2 separate regions of the Homo sapiens genome follow, and region 1 is linked to region 2. Evidence: promoter capture Hi-C in 16 types of primary human blood cells and fetal thymus (Javierre and others, 2016). All regions are on one chromosome and are shown on one strand. The core of a region is centred on a gene start or on the middle of the fragment in contact, and the rest is flanking DNA. Distances in the headings are between cores, read along the strand shown. Region 1 overlaps DENND5B (DENN domain containing 5B). Region 2 holds the start of BICD1 (BICD cargo adaptor 1).

Region 1 (6,555 bases), core at 2,195-4,694, 530 kb before region 2:
CATTTTCAGTAAATTGATAGGTTTAAAGAAAATGAGAAATGCACATCTGTCCTTGCAGAAGTTTTCCCAATTACTGTGTAACTGTCCCTTCTTAGGTTATACCTTCTTAGGTTATCTCAAGGTCTTTGGTTGGTTGATTGGTCTAAACATTTGAAACTCACAGGTAGGTTTTGGCAGGAAACTCATTTACAGAAAGGGTGAGAAATGTTACCTCCCTTACAGCAACACAAACTGGGAATTTTAAAAGCAACAAAAGCCAAAACATAATAAGACAATCAAAAGATTGTCCCTGTTATCATTCTGCTGCATGAAAAGGGAAACTGCAAGCATTCTCCGCATTCTCGGCTGCAAGTGCCAGCACTGATCATGAAATGTTTACATAGCCCTTACTATGGGAGACAGGAAAGGAGCTGTGAAGGACAAGTGTCAGATCTGCTGCTGCTGCTTCAAGACTCAGCCTCCCTGAAACATCACTCTTTCTTAGCAACCTGCAGGGAGACAACCAGATTTTTCCATCAGAGGTTTCTTATACCGTCTAAACATATTTTCATTCTACGTGACAACACACAAATCGGACCAGTAAGATAGAGATCAAGAGTTTATCTTGTCACTGAGTTGCCTCTTCTGCTAACTAGCTTCTTCCTGTCTTCCCATCTTATTTGTCACTAGTGTTTTCCCCTTTCCATAGAAAAAAAAATTTTAATAGATTATTTTAGCATTAAGCAACTGAGTGAGATTCAAAGCTACTCTTTCTTTTCTCATTTCACTTTAATTACTAATTGTAGAAAGGATTTGGGTTTAAAAAAAAAAAGTTGCAAGAACTACGGATTTAATTTCTATCTCTCAAAAGTAAACACCTGAATTAGAAAACTCCATTTTATCCATTCACTCTTTCTTTTTTAGAAAAATAATTTAAAAGCCACAATTTTTTTTTTTGTTTTTTTGAGACGGAGTTTCACTCATTGCCCAGGCTGGAGTGCCATGGCACGTTCTCGGCTCACTGCAACCTCCACCTCTCGGGCTCAAGCGATTCTCCTGCCTCAACCTCCTGAGTAGCTGGGGAGCCACCACGCCCGGCTAATTTTTGTGTATTTTTAGTAGAGACAGGGTTTCACCATGTTGGCCAGGCTGGTCTCAAACTCCTGACCTCAGGTGATCTGCCCGCTTTGACCTCTTAAAGTGCTGGGATTACAGGCGAGAGCCACCGTACCCAGCCAAAAGCTACAATTTTTTAAAAGCACATATTGCCAGGCCAGGTGCAGTGGCTCATGCCTGTAATCTCAGCACTTTGGGAGGCCAGCGCAGGTGGATCATGTGAGGTCGGGAGCTCAAGACCAGCCTGACCAACATGGAAAAACCCCATCCCAACTAAAAATACAAAATTAGCCAGGTGTGGTGGCGCATGCCTGTAATCCCAGCTACTTGGGAGGCTGAAGCAGGAGAATCCCTTGAGCCCAGGAGGTGGAGGTTGTGGTGAGCCGAGATCACAACACTGCACTCCAGCCTGGGCAACAAGAGCGAAACTCTGTCTCAAAAAAAAAAAGAAAAAAAGGCACATAAAGCACATATTGCCTTTTGTTATTTCAAAACAATCATTTTATTTACCCTCACTCATTGTTAAGTAGCAAGAATGCCCCCACGCAAACCAAAGTCCTACAGCTTCATTGTTACAAATCTTTCTGATGGTGCGTAAAACAGACATTCCTCAGAAAGTCCTATTAAAAAATGTCTGAAACAAAGCAAATACTTAATTTTCTGGATAATCTTGAAGATAGGATGTAAAACAATAACAAAATAAATATCAAATCCCCAAGCCCTTATTTTTGTCACTAATTTTACTCTTTCTCAAAAAAAAAAAAAAAAAAAAACTCACGAGTTATTAACACATAGCCAATGAAATCAGTCTCCTTTTCTCTGTCCTTGTTTCTCTTCCTACTCTATTTTAGGCATCTGAAAAAGTATCTAAAAGGTGTTATCTAAAAAGTGCTTATTATAAGAAGGTTAAAGCACTGATTCTCTCTGAAAAAAATCTCCTGCTCTTGTATGACACCCTCTAATTCTGGATTTTAACTTCTCATACCTAGAGACAACAAATAGGGAATAAACAGTTGAATCTCTCTTGGATTTCCTTATCCTAGAAAGCTCTAATTGTTAGCCTCTCCCGAAATATACCATTTTAGAAAACATAATTAAATAGATTTGGGGGACAGGAAAGCATTAAGGAAGAAAAAGACTTTTTAAAGAAAAAATATTTACGAAACTCATGCCAATTAAATCTGAATGTTCTCTTTAATTCTAAGAGCATCTTTTAAAGGACCTTAAAGCTTTATATGTTGCTGTGTAAGGAAACCTGAGCAGACTGGAGAAAAGCTCAAAGGCCTATCTATAATCTCATCACAAAGTGACAGGGTCAAAAGGCAGAGGTCAGGGAACAGGGTACAAAATAGTTCCCACACTTGAAAGAAAACTGTATCTCATTAGTTCAGAGATATTAAAAAATATTCAATTGTGTTACTAAAATGACAATTTATACTTTAAATCCCAAGGCAAATTTGAATATTATGAAATAATATACTTTTAAGAGCAAAAAATGTAAGAAGTTACCTCTTCTACATTTGAAAAAAACACCAATCTCTCGCTCACACATATACCAGTGCTTCAACTGTCCCTCAAAGACTGATGTTCAGATAAAAGCTGTCACCTGACCTATTCAATAGAGTTCAATAAGGCACTGAAATAAATACTGAATGTGCATACATGTCAACAGACATTTCATATCTGGGCCTCTGCCCCATAATGATTCAACAAGGTATGTCTACTTCATGGCCTTATGTTCACATTCAGAAAAAGCTAAATTTTTACTCTTGCTTAGAGATTTCATTCCAGGGAAAAGTGAATGTAATTTCGTTCAATATTCATTAAGTAGGCTCAACACTTGTGCAAGAGACTCTTATAATGACTCCATGATTCTTCAATGGACAATTAAATCTACAGAAGCTCTGGGGTCTAGGGCATTTGCTGGCTATCCCTCTACCACTTCTACTCTAACCACAAATTTTGTGTTCTAAGTGGCAGAGAGGGTGATAGAGGTATCAAAGAGATAAAGAGAATTCTGGCCAGGCACCGTGGTGCACGCCATTAGTCCCAGCTATCCCAGGAGGCTGAGGCAGGAAGATCCCTTGAGCCCAGGAGGTTGAGGCTGTAGTGAGCTATGATGGCCTGTTAATAGCCACTGTGCTCCATTCTGGGCAACAAAGGGAGACTCTTTATCTCTTAAAAAAAAAAAAAAAGGCACAGTGGCTCATGCCTGAAATCCCAACAGTGGGAGGCCAAGGTGGAAGAACCATTTGAGGCAAGGACCATTTGAGACTAGCCTGGACAACACGGTGAGATCTTGTCTCTACAAAAATAAAAAAAAAAATTAGCCAGGTGTGGTGGCATGTGCCTGTGGTCCCAGCTACTCGGAAGGCTGAGGCAAGAGAACCACTTGAGCCCGGGAGATCGAGGCTGCAGTGAGCTGTGATCGCGCCACTGCACTCCAGCATGGGTGAGAGAATGAGACCCTGTCTCTAAAAAATAATAATAATAATAATAATAATAATAATTTAAAAGGGAGGTGGCCAGGCGCGGTGGCTCCCTGTAATCCCAGCACTTTGGGAGGCCAAGGCGGGTGGAGCTCTTGAAGTCTGGAGTTCGAGACCAACCTGGGCAACACAGCAAAACCCTGTCTCTACTAAAAATACAAAAGTTAGCTGGGCATGCTGGTGCATGCCTGTAGTCCCAGCTACTCGAGAGGCTGAGGCAGAAGAATCGCTTGAACCTGGGAGGCGGAGGTTGCAGTGAGCTGAGATTGCGTCACCGCACTCCAGCCTGGGTGACAGAGCGAGACTCTGCCTCAAAATAAAAAATAAAATAATAAAAGGGAGGTGGAGGGGGAATTTTGGAATCACCAGTATGGTTCTTAAGTTTTTGTTTTCTACCAACTTCTATCCTCTCCATACACTCAATACTTTAATTATTTCCCCATTGGCCCCATCCACCAGAAACAAGATGATTTACAAGTGGTTCACTGTAAACGGGTCCTGTCAGTCCTTCACTATGAAGAATATACAAGATTTTACATTCTAGTACACACAGCTTTCACATATTTAATTAAAATCAGATTGTAGCTAGAGCTGCCAGTGAAAAAATGAAGCACTGCCAGACAGGAGTGAGAATGACCAAACAAAATAACCTATTTTCACATAGTCACCTCAAGGGTACCAATGCCTGTGTTTTAACTGTGAAATCACAGTCATTGTTCTGGTGAACAATGGCACAAAACAAGTTAAGTCCAGTGTGAAAGTTCATTTTCCTCGAGCTGAGCAAGAATATTTTGAAATCCTGACAAAAGTTTATTTATTAAGAAAATACATACACTTGAGACAGGAGATAGGAAATAGTTTTAAACAATCTGTTATCTTGTTACCCCAGCCATTTATATTTCCTTAAAAGTTAGAGTTGAAGTTGAGGATAACTTAACCTAAAAATAGAAAACACTGTGGTTCTAAAAGTAAATCACCTACAAGCTTTAAACCTATAACCAGCCATAAATTCCTACTGCTCAATGTATTCTTATTAAAGTTAGTATGTCATTCTCATAGAATTCCAATTGATAATGTTGGTGCTGATTCTTGTAACAAAGGAGGACTACATCAGGGAATTACGTAAGAGTAGATTGTGACTACCCACTTCCCCCTTCAAAAGCAAGTCACATCTCTGCCCAAAGGAAACAATTCCTTTTTGCTGTTTTAGTCCTGATCTACAGCAATAAAAAATTGATATAAATTTAATATCTAGAAAGAATATCCTTAGACTAGCAGATTGTCCCTGTTTTCTCAAAGGACCACAAGAGAAGGAAGAGGAAGAAAACTGAACAGATACTGGAAATAAAAGGTACTAAACCCGAAAAGATGTGAGATATAAGAAATTGCCCAGTTTCAGGCTGGATGTGGTGGCTCACACCTGTAATTCCAGCACTTTGGGAGGCCCAGGCAGGATAGCTTGAGTCCAGGAGTTCGAGACAGCCTGGGCAACACAGTGTGACCCCATGTCTACAAAAAAATTTAAAAATTAACCAGGCACATAGCAGGGCACGGTGGTACATGCCTGTAATATCAGCTACTTGGGAGGCTGAGGCATGAGAATTACTTGAACACGGGAGGCGGAGGTTGCAGTGAGCCAAGATCACGCCACTGCACTCCAGCCTGGGAGACAGAGCAAGACTGTCTCAAAAAACAGAAAGAAAGAAAGAAAAAAGTTAACCAGGCATGGTGGCACATGCCTGTAGTCCCAGCTACTCAAGAGGCTGAAGTGGAAGGACTGCTTGAGCCAGGGAGGTTGAGGTTACAGTGAGCTATGACTGTGCCACTGCACTCCAGCCCGTGTGACAGAGCAAGGCTCTGTCTCCAAAAAAAAAAAAAAAAAGAAGAATGAGGCCGCGCGCACAGGGGCTCACACCTGTAATCCCAGCATTTTAAGAGGCCAAGGTGAGTGGATCATTTGAGGTCAGGAGTTCCAGACCAGTCTGGCCAACATGGTGAAACTCTGTCTCTACTAAAAAATACAAAAATTAGCCAAGCGTAGTGGCAGACGCCTGTAATCCCAGCTAATCGGGAGGCTGAGGCATCAGAATCGCTTGAACCCGGGAGACAGAGTGTGTTGCAGTGAGCCGTGATCATGCCACTGCACTCCAGCCTGGGAGACAGAGCAACACACCATCTCAAAAAAAAGTAATAATAATGAAAGATAAGAAAGAGACAGAGAAAAGAGAGAAAGAAAAGAAAAAAGAAAAAAAGAAATTTCCCAGTTTCTGCTAGAAATGAAGGTAAATGGAAGATTCAGACAGACATTTCCAAGAGTTTTTTCAGGTCAGGCGTGGTGGCTCACACCTATAATCCCAGCACTTTTGTAGGATGAGGAGGGAGGATTACTTGAAGTCAGGAGTTCGAGACCAGCTTGAGCAATAAAGCAAGAACCCATCTCTACAAAAAAAAAATGTTTTTTTTAATTAGCTGGTCATGGTGGCGCACAGCCGTGGTCTCAGCTTCTCAGGAGGTTGAGGCAGGAGGATCACTTGAGCCCAGGAGTTTGGGAGATCAAGCCTGCAGTGAGCTATGATCACACCACTGCACTCCAGCCTGGGCAGCAGAGTGAGACCTTATTTCTAAAAAAAAAAAGAGCGAGCTTTTTCACTATGAGGTTTTACATAATGATACAAGAACTTTTTTGTCAAAAGAATATTTCTTCTTCTACAGGTTTTTCTCAAAAAGGGACAACCAAAAGAGCAATAAGAGGTGGCATCATGAGGACCAAGGTGAAAATAAGGGTGATCTTTGAAGAAGGGATTAGAGAAAAAAAGTACAAAAGCCTGGTCTATGAGCAATCTTGTGTCAAGCTGTACTGAGGAATTAAGATGATCAGAAATTTACTTAATTTACATTATCACTTCTACATTGATGTTTTCTCAAACTATAGGATAATTTCCTGTTTAAATAAATGACAGAGTATGTTGTA
Region 2 (6,447 bases), core at 713-3,212:
TTTATTTATTTTTAGATCAGACAATCACAAGAGAATATTCTTTTGTTTTATTTTTAGATCAGACAATCACATGAGAATATTCTGTTGTGATCGCTGGCGTTTAGAAGGAAACTTGTCTGGTTTGTGAAGCAATGGAAAACACATCCAGACAGCCTGCTAGTGGAAACTTTGGAAGGGCACTGTCATATGCTTTTTCTCCCACGCCATCAACAAGTGTCCTTTTTTTTTTTTTTTTTTGAGATGGAGTCTCTGTTGCCTAGGCTGGAGTATAGTGGTGCCATCTGTACCCTCCACCTCCTGGATTCAAGCAATTCTCCTGCCTCAGCCTCCCAAGTAGCTGGGATCACAGGCGTGCACCACCATACCTGGCTAATTTTTGTATTTTTAGTAGAGATGGGATTTCACCATGTGGGCCAGGCTAGTCTTGAACTCCGGACCTCAAATGATCCATCCACTTCTGCCTCCCAAAGTGCTGGGATTATAGGCGTGAGCCACTGTGCCCGGTCAACAATCATCTTTTTTTTTTTTTTTTTTTTTTTTACCAGGTACACAATGATGGGAGAGTTGAGTCCTGCTTTCTAACTTAGAAAACGCATGTGTGTTCATCACCTGGTCACTGAGAAACAGCTCTGGAATAGGTGCCATGCAGAAGAAGAGAGGGAACTGGAAAGACCCACTGATCTGTGGGTCTCACAGCCTCCCGTTACACAGAAATTGCTTCTTTTCTCTCATGTTGCGTTCTTCCTCTTGATTCTCGACCCTTCTCCACTCTTTCATTTACTCCACTCTTACTTTGCTTTCACCTCCTTTTGTAACCGTTCATCATCACTCTTCATATGGATTAATGTGATTATCTTAAAAGCATGTAATATGTAGTTGCTGGGTTTGTATGAGTAATGAGTGAACCTGAAGCCAACATAATGATCCCGTTTAGTGCTCCCGAGTTAAGATTCCAGAGTTGCCTGACTTTGGACAAATCACATCTCCCTTTGCCTTTCACCCCCTGTAAACTGAGGATAATGGCTCTTACCTCAAAGCATTGTTAGGATTGGAGAGAACGCATGTTACATACTTAGAAGAATGCTTGGTATGGGTCTCAAGAACTCTTAGCTCTTATTGTTTAAAAAATGCTTATTACAGGGCATCGTTGGTATCTTATATAGGGAATTTCAAGCAGTTTTCCTTTATTGAAGACACAGAGTAAGGTGCTTTGATGGAAACTATTGGGGCAAGATATACAGTACCTAGCTAGAGGTTTCCTGGGTGCATGTATTGTGGAGATATTTTTTTTCTGAGTGGATAGCGCTCTTGTGATACGCTGGGTGAGGGCGAGCAATATTTAGCGGACTGTCCTGTGAGGATAGTAAGGTTATCTGGTGAGAGTGTTAGGTGGCCCAGGCCAGACTTGGGAGAGGCAGGGAGAGAGGGGGACGACGGAGGAGGGCGCCTTGGGGTGCGTCTTGAAAGCTTTGGGAAACCCAGCGGTCTTTTGGGGGCAGGTGGCCCAAAAAGCCTTCTGCGCGCCCAGGGGACGAGGAGGATGCGCGGACCGCGACCGCGATAGTTTTGTTTGCTTTTCTCGGGAGAAAGCGTTCCAGGCAGTTTCCTGAGCTTCGGCCCTCGACGTAGCAAAAGAGCCCGGGCGCCCACGCCGCTCTCGGGGTCTTCTACTGCCACCGGGACAAAGCCCTGGGAGGAGCTCCCGCCCCCGCGAGCCGGACAGGGCGGAGGCTCCCCCGCCGCGCGCGCCCCACCGCTTCCCAGTCCCAGACCCGTCGCCTGCGCCTCCTCCTGGCGCGCCTCACGGTGCAGCGGGCGGCGGCCCGCGCGCCCGGCGGGAGGCGCCTCGGGATGTTTCCGTCTGGTCCTTCCCTCCGCCCCCCGCGCTGACTCCATCCGCTCCCCGCCCCCTGCTCGGAGCCGCCGCCACGCGGGAAGGGAGGGAGCCGGCCCCGAGACTGCATCATTCCGCACCGGCTGCTGCAGGGCCAGAGGGAGCAGGTGGAGCGAGAGAGCGAGCCGCGAGCCGGAGCGCGCCAGACCCAGGGCGAGACTGCAGTGACGCGGCCCGGGAGACATGGCGGACGGGCGTCTCTGAATAAGCAGAATCCGGAGCCCCTCGCTACCCGCGGCCGCCGCAGCCCGGGCCATGCCGCACGGCTGCTGACCGCACGCAGGGGCCGGCCCCGAGGACACATGCGGCGGCCTTTGCCGCCTCGCCCCTGACCCTCTGCCCTGTTCTCCATGTTGCATTTCTCGTCAGTTTCTCGGGCGGTGTAGCTGCCGCTGCCACCAGAGCCGGCGGGGCATCGCGCTGCTCATTCATCCGGCCGCACTTTCTTTTCCGTTTCCACCCATCCCTTCCCATTTCCTTCTCCCTTTCCCCGCCAGCTTCGCATCCATCTCCCCCACCCCGTAACCCCCTCCTGCCTCCATCCACCGGGGCTATGGCCGCAGAAGAGGTATTGCAGACGGTGGACCATTATAAGACTGAGATAGAGAGGCTAACCAAGGAGCTCACGGAGACCACCCACGAGAAGATCCAGGCTGCCGAGTACGGGCTGGTGGTGCTGGAGGAGAAGCTGACCCTCAAACAGCAGTATGATGAACTGGAGGCTGAGTACGACAGCCTCAAACAGGAGCTGGAGCAGCTCAAAGAGGTGAGTTGCCTGTCACCTCTCCCTTTCCTGGCCCTCACTCCCCCCACCCGCAAGGCCCACTCATCATGATCAAGAAGTCATAAAGGAGGTGATTGAAAGGACTGTTTTTTCTTCTAGGGCCCTTTGTTGGTAAGAGAAGATTGAAAGAGTCCATTGTTTCCTCCCCCAAGAGAAAAATTGCCTAAGAAATGAATATATAAGCTGGAATTTGGGAGGCAATGGCTGTTTGGCCTGCGGGGGAGGGAGATTAGTAAGAGTCATCAAGTCTCAGCACTCTAAGACGACATTCAAGTGGGTTGGAATGTATAAATCAAACTTCTCAAAACCGCTGTTATCTCAAACCCAGGTTTCAGCGACAATTTCGTAGTCCACAAAAGTGATGAGGTTTGTGCCTGAGGACCCACAATTTCAGGATTTAGACTGTGTGGCACCTCAGCTTTCCTCTGGATGTAACCACTCCTTGGTGAGAGAGGGAACTCCTCACCAATCCCATTTGACAAAGGCTAGGCAATCTTCATTCTGCTTGGCTTTAGTCATTCTTGTCATTGGGCTGCAGAAGAAAAACAACTTTGCTGGGTGATCCCACTGCCTTGATTTCACCTCGGAGCGAGGCTGGGCCATGTCCAAGTCTTATGAGGTCACCCTGACTAGAAAAAATTGAACTCACCTACAAATAGTCTGAAAGAGTGGTGTATATCAAATACGTGGGTAGTGTTGCATTTCAAATGAGGCTCTTCTGGTTGAAATGATATATTTATAAAACCAGAATATCAAAAATGGGTGATGTATAATGTCTCTTTAGTTTTTTGGTATTTGGCCTCTTTTAAAGCCTGTCGGATGTATGGGAGAAAACAATGAACGTGCTTTGATTTCCTATCAGTCACTCTTAAGAACATACATATTGTTTAAGTAACTCGGTCTTTTTTATCTGATTCTTGAGGCACTATGGGTAGCAAATAACCACTTACAAATTTAAATGTAATATACACTCCTTTTCTGTGTGTCAAGTCCTTATTTTTAGGTGCATATTGACATTTAAATGTTAATTATTGTTTGGCATATAATATCAAAAATCTATTATTTATTTTATGCTGTTACAGTTAAAAGATGTGATTTATGACATACTGAATCAACTTGCCTTCCAATTTAGTGTGTAATATGGTAAGCATTTATACTTTTAGATATGTCTTATTTTTATTTGGATGCCTGTCTACCAAAAAATAAATGTACTACCTATGATTAAAAATCCCAACTAGGAATCTAATTTTTGTGTGTCAGGCTGTAAATTTCTGGTTCCTATTTTACTTACCATGTACCTGTCTGGTCTTAACAACAGCTGGACTTGTTTATATTTTCCAACTTAGATTAGGCTGACATGTTTAAATGCAGTGATGCTAAACCTTGTGAAGTGAGGAAGCAGGATGATGACTGTCATTCTCAGAGATGTTTTGATATTGTCTATACCTATCAACACTGCTTTGCCAAGATAGGGAAGTGCAAACCAGAAAGTGGTAAGCCATCACCTTCTTGATAAAGGAGATGGACTTAATTTAATGAAATGTACCTCTTACTGACTTTGCTGCTTGATTTAAACAATCCTTCTAGGGATATTTCTGTCATTGCACTTACCTTGCATAGCAAACCTTAATGCAATTGTGTTTTGCCTTTGCTACACCATGAGCTTTGCATCCCAAGTCTTTAACACAAAAGCTAGCACACAGTGGGCATGAAATATTTTATGAAAGAATCAGTTTGTACTAGAAGAAGGCACACTTTTATCAAGGGTTCACTAGTCAATATTGATTAGTGTTAGATAAATACTAAGAAAATTAGGATGTATAGGAAGTGACAGATGTTAATAAAACTACCTGTATTAGTTTCACCAGCAGTAATGAGAAAAATGTGAAAAAAACGTTTTGTAGGAATAATGTAACTGTGGTTTCTTAATACAGAATAATGCAAATACCAACTAAAATTTTTTCTATAAATATTTTAATATATATTTTGTTCTATATAGCAGGAGGTTAATAAAAATTTACCAGCATTATTTTTACTAAACGATTCTTGTTCATATATTTATTTTCAGTTGCATTTAGCATAAGTGAAATTCGAGATTCCTAAAAAACTGGTTTATACAGTTATATAAAAATGTATTTTAGGTAATAAAATTATTATAGTTGATTATTTGATAGTGAGGCCTATTATTTTTATTCTTTAAACATAGAATATACTTTAGTTGGAAATATAACTTAAATGAGTTAAATTGATTTCAAGTAACATTTCTTGTATGAAAAGTAAATCCAAAATAATTGTGCAAACTGAGGTGTTCCAACACCTCAGTTTTGAAAAATATTTTGTGAGTGTTTTGATTTTTCAAAAGAAAGTTTTGCTCATCAGGTATGTATAGTAAATGATGTTGCATTATATCTATAAAGCCAAGCATAAAATAAATCTTTGCTTATTTCTAGGATTTTTGAACAAATATGATTTATTTAAAAATAATTGAACCAGTTTATGGGAATGTCAACAGAAAACTACTGTATTAAGTCCAAATTGGACATTAGTAATTTGCAGTATAGCAACATGGCTCAGTCTTTGCAGATCATTTTGTTTTCCAGAGTCAGTACCCACCAATGTTGCTACCTTCCTTCCCAGGCTAGGTACTGCTGTGACAATAATGCAAGTCGGCAGTGTTGCCTAAAGATGTGCAAAATCAAGAAGATGAAATTCATTAAATTTTTTTCCTAGTTATTTCTTCCCTCAACTCAATTGTTTTTTGACCTGGCCTGATGTTGTTTAGTGCTCTGCATGGACTACTGTAATTCAGCTCACAGAAGAACACACTTGAAAGAATAGTACTAAGGATTTGAAAAAAGGATGACTTCTGACATCATCAAAGTGTTCTCCTTTTCATGATTCTTTGGGCAGCTGGACAGAGCAGTATGTCCACTAGAATACTTGAGTCTGGTTTTGTGATTTCACAAGTAACACTTGCTCTTCAGTGACCTGAGTGAGGGTCACCCATGCCCAGTTATGTTCAGGGCCTGGCTGATTATATGTTTGGGATGTACGTAAATCAGCACTGTGCGCCTGTCACCCAGGCCAGAATAGTGTTTGAAGAAGAGTCATAGCTCCAAAATAACCTGAAAACTAAAAATATACATATATAAAAATACCTTGGATCTAAACTTAAGAGTTTTTTTTACACCGCATGTTCTCACTCATAGATGGGAATTGAACAATGAGAACACATGGACACAGGAAGGGGAACATCACACTCTGGGGACTGTTGTGGGGTGGGGGGAGGGGGGATGGATAGCATTAGGAGATATACCTAATGCTAAATGACGAGTTAATGGGTGCAGCACACCAGCATGGCACATGTATACATATGTAACTAATCTGCACGTTGTGCACATGTACCCTAAAACTTAAAGTATAATAATAAAAAAAAAGAGTTTTTTTTTAACTTAAAAATGGTTGAAATTTAAAATGTTGTAAAGTTGAAAAAGAGCCCCTTAGAAAGGAATGATTCAGCATTACTGATGGCATTTTAAAAAGGAAATGTATCTGTGAGACAGCTTTAGAAAAGTTTTGCAGCTTGGATACCGTAAACTATGCACTAATGAGCTTCAACCCATTTTCTTGCTTATTTTGTCAACCCTGACACCAAGGATAGTTACCAGCTGCTGAAGAAGCACTTTCTGGACATTGGGCAGCTTTTTCTTTTGGAGCCAACTCTATTCTTTTTCAGGGTTATAGTTAAATCATTCAACACAAAAATATG

Evidence for each region. Contacts are between HindIII fragments. The CHiCAGO score rates a contact against its expected background, and 5 or more counts as called.
Region 1: a contact is called between a fragment that was not itself captured here and the fragment with the promoter of BICD1 in region 2, in 1 of 17 cell types (neutrophils). The highest score is 5.1, in neutrophils.

What each region holds. Positions count from the first base shown.
Region 1 is chr12:31,570,693-31,577,247 of GRCh38, forward strand. The region is part of intron 1 of DENND5B (DENN domain containing 5B); the gene reads right to left. Among named protein-coding and RNA genes, the nearest start is that of DENND5B-AS1, 16 kb to the right of the region's middle. RefSeq lists enhancers at 342-501, 688-1,188 and a silencer at 4,509-4,709. The HindIII fragment of the contact is 2,244 bases long and covers 2,323-4,566 here.
Region 2 is chr12:32,104,885-32,111,331 of GRCh38, forward strand. It overlaps BICD1 (BICD cargo adaptor 1), which reads left to right and starts at 1,963. Exons shown (of 10, transcript NM_001714.4): 1 at 1,963-2,660. The coding sequence starts at 2,448. BICD1-AS1 (BICD1 antisense RNA 1) reads right to left here and starts at 2,578. Exons shown (of 3, transcript NR_185992.1): 1 at 2,510-2,578. RefSeq lists a silencer at 1,486-1,965 and enhancers at 2,326-2,405, 2,933-3,570. The HindIII fragment of the contact is 11,162 bases long and covers 1,466-6,447 here.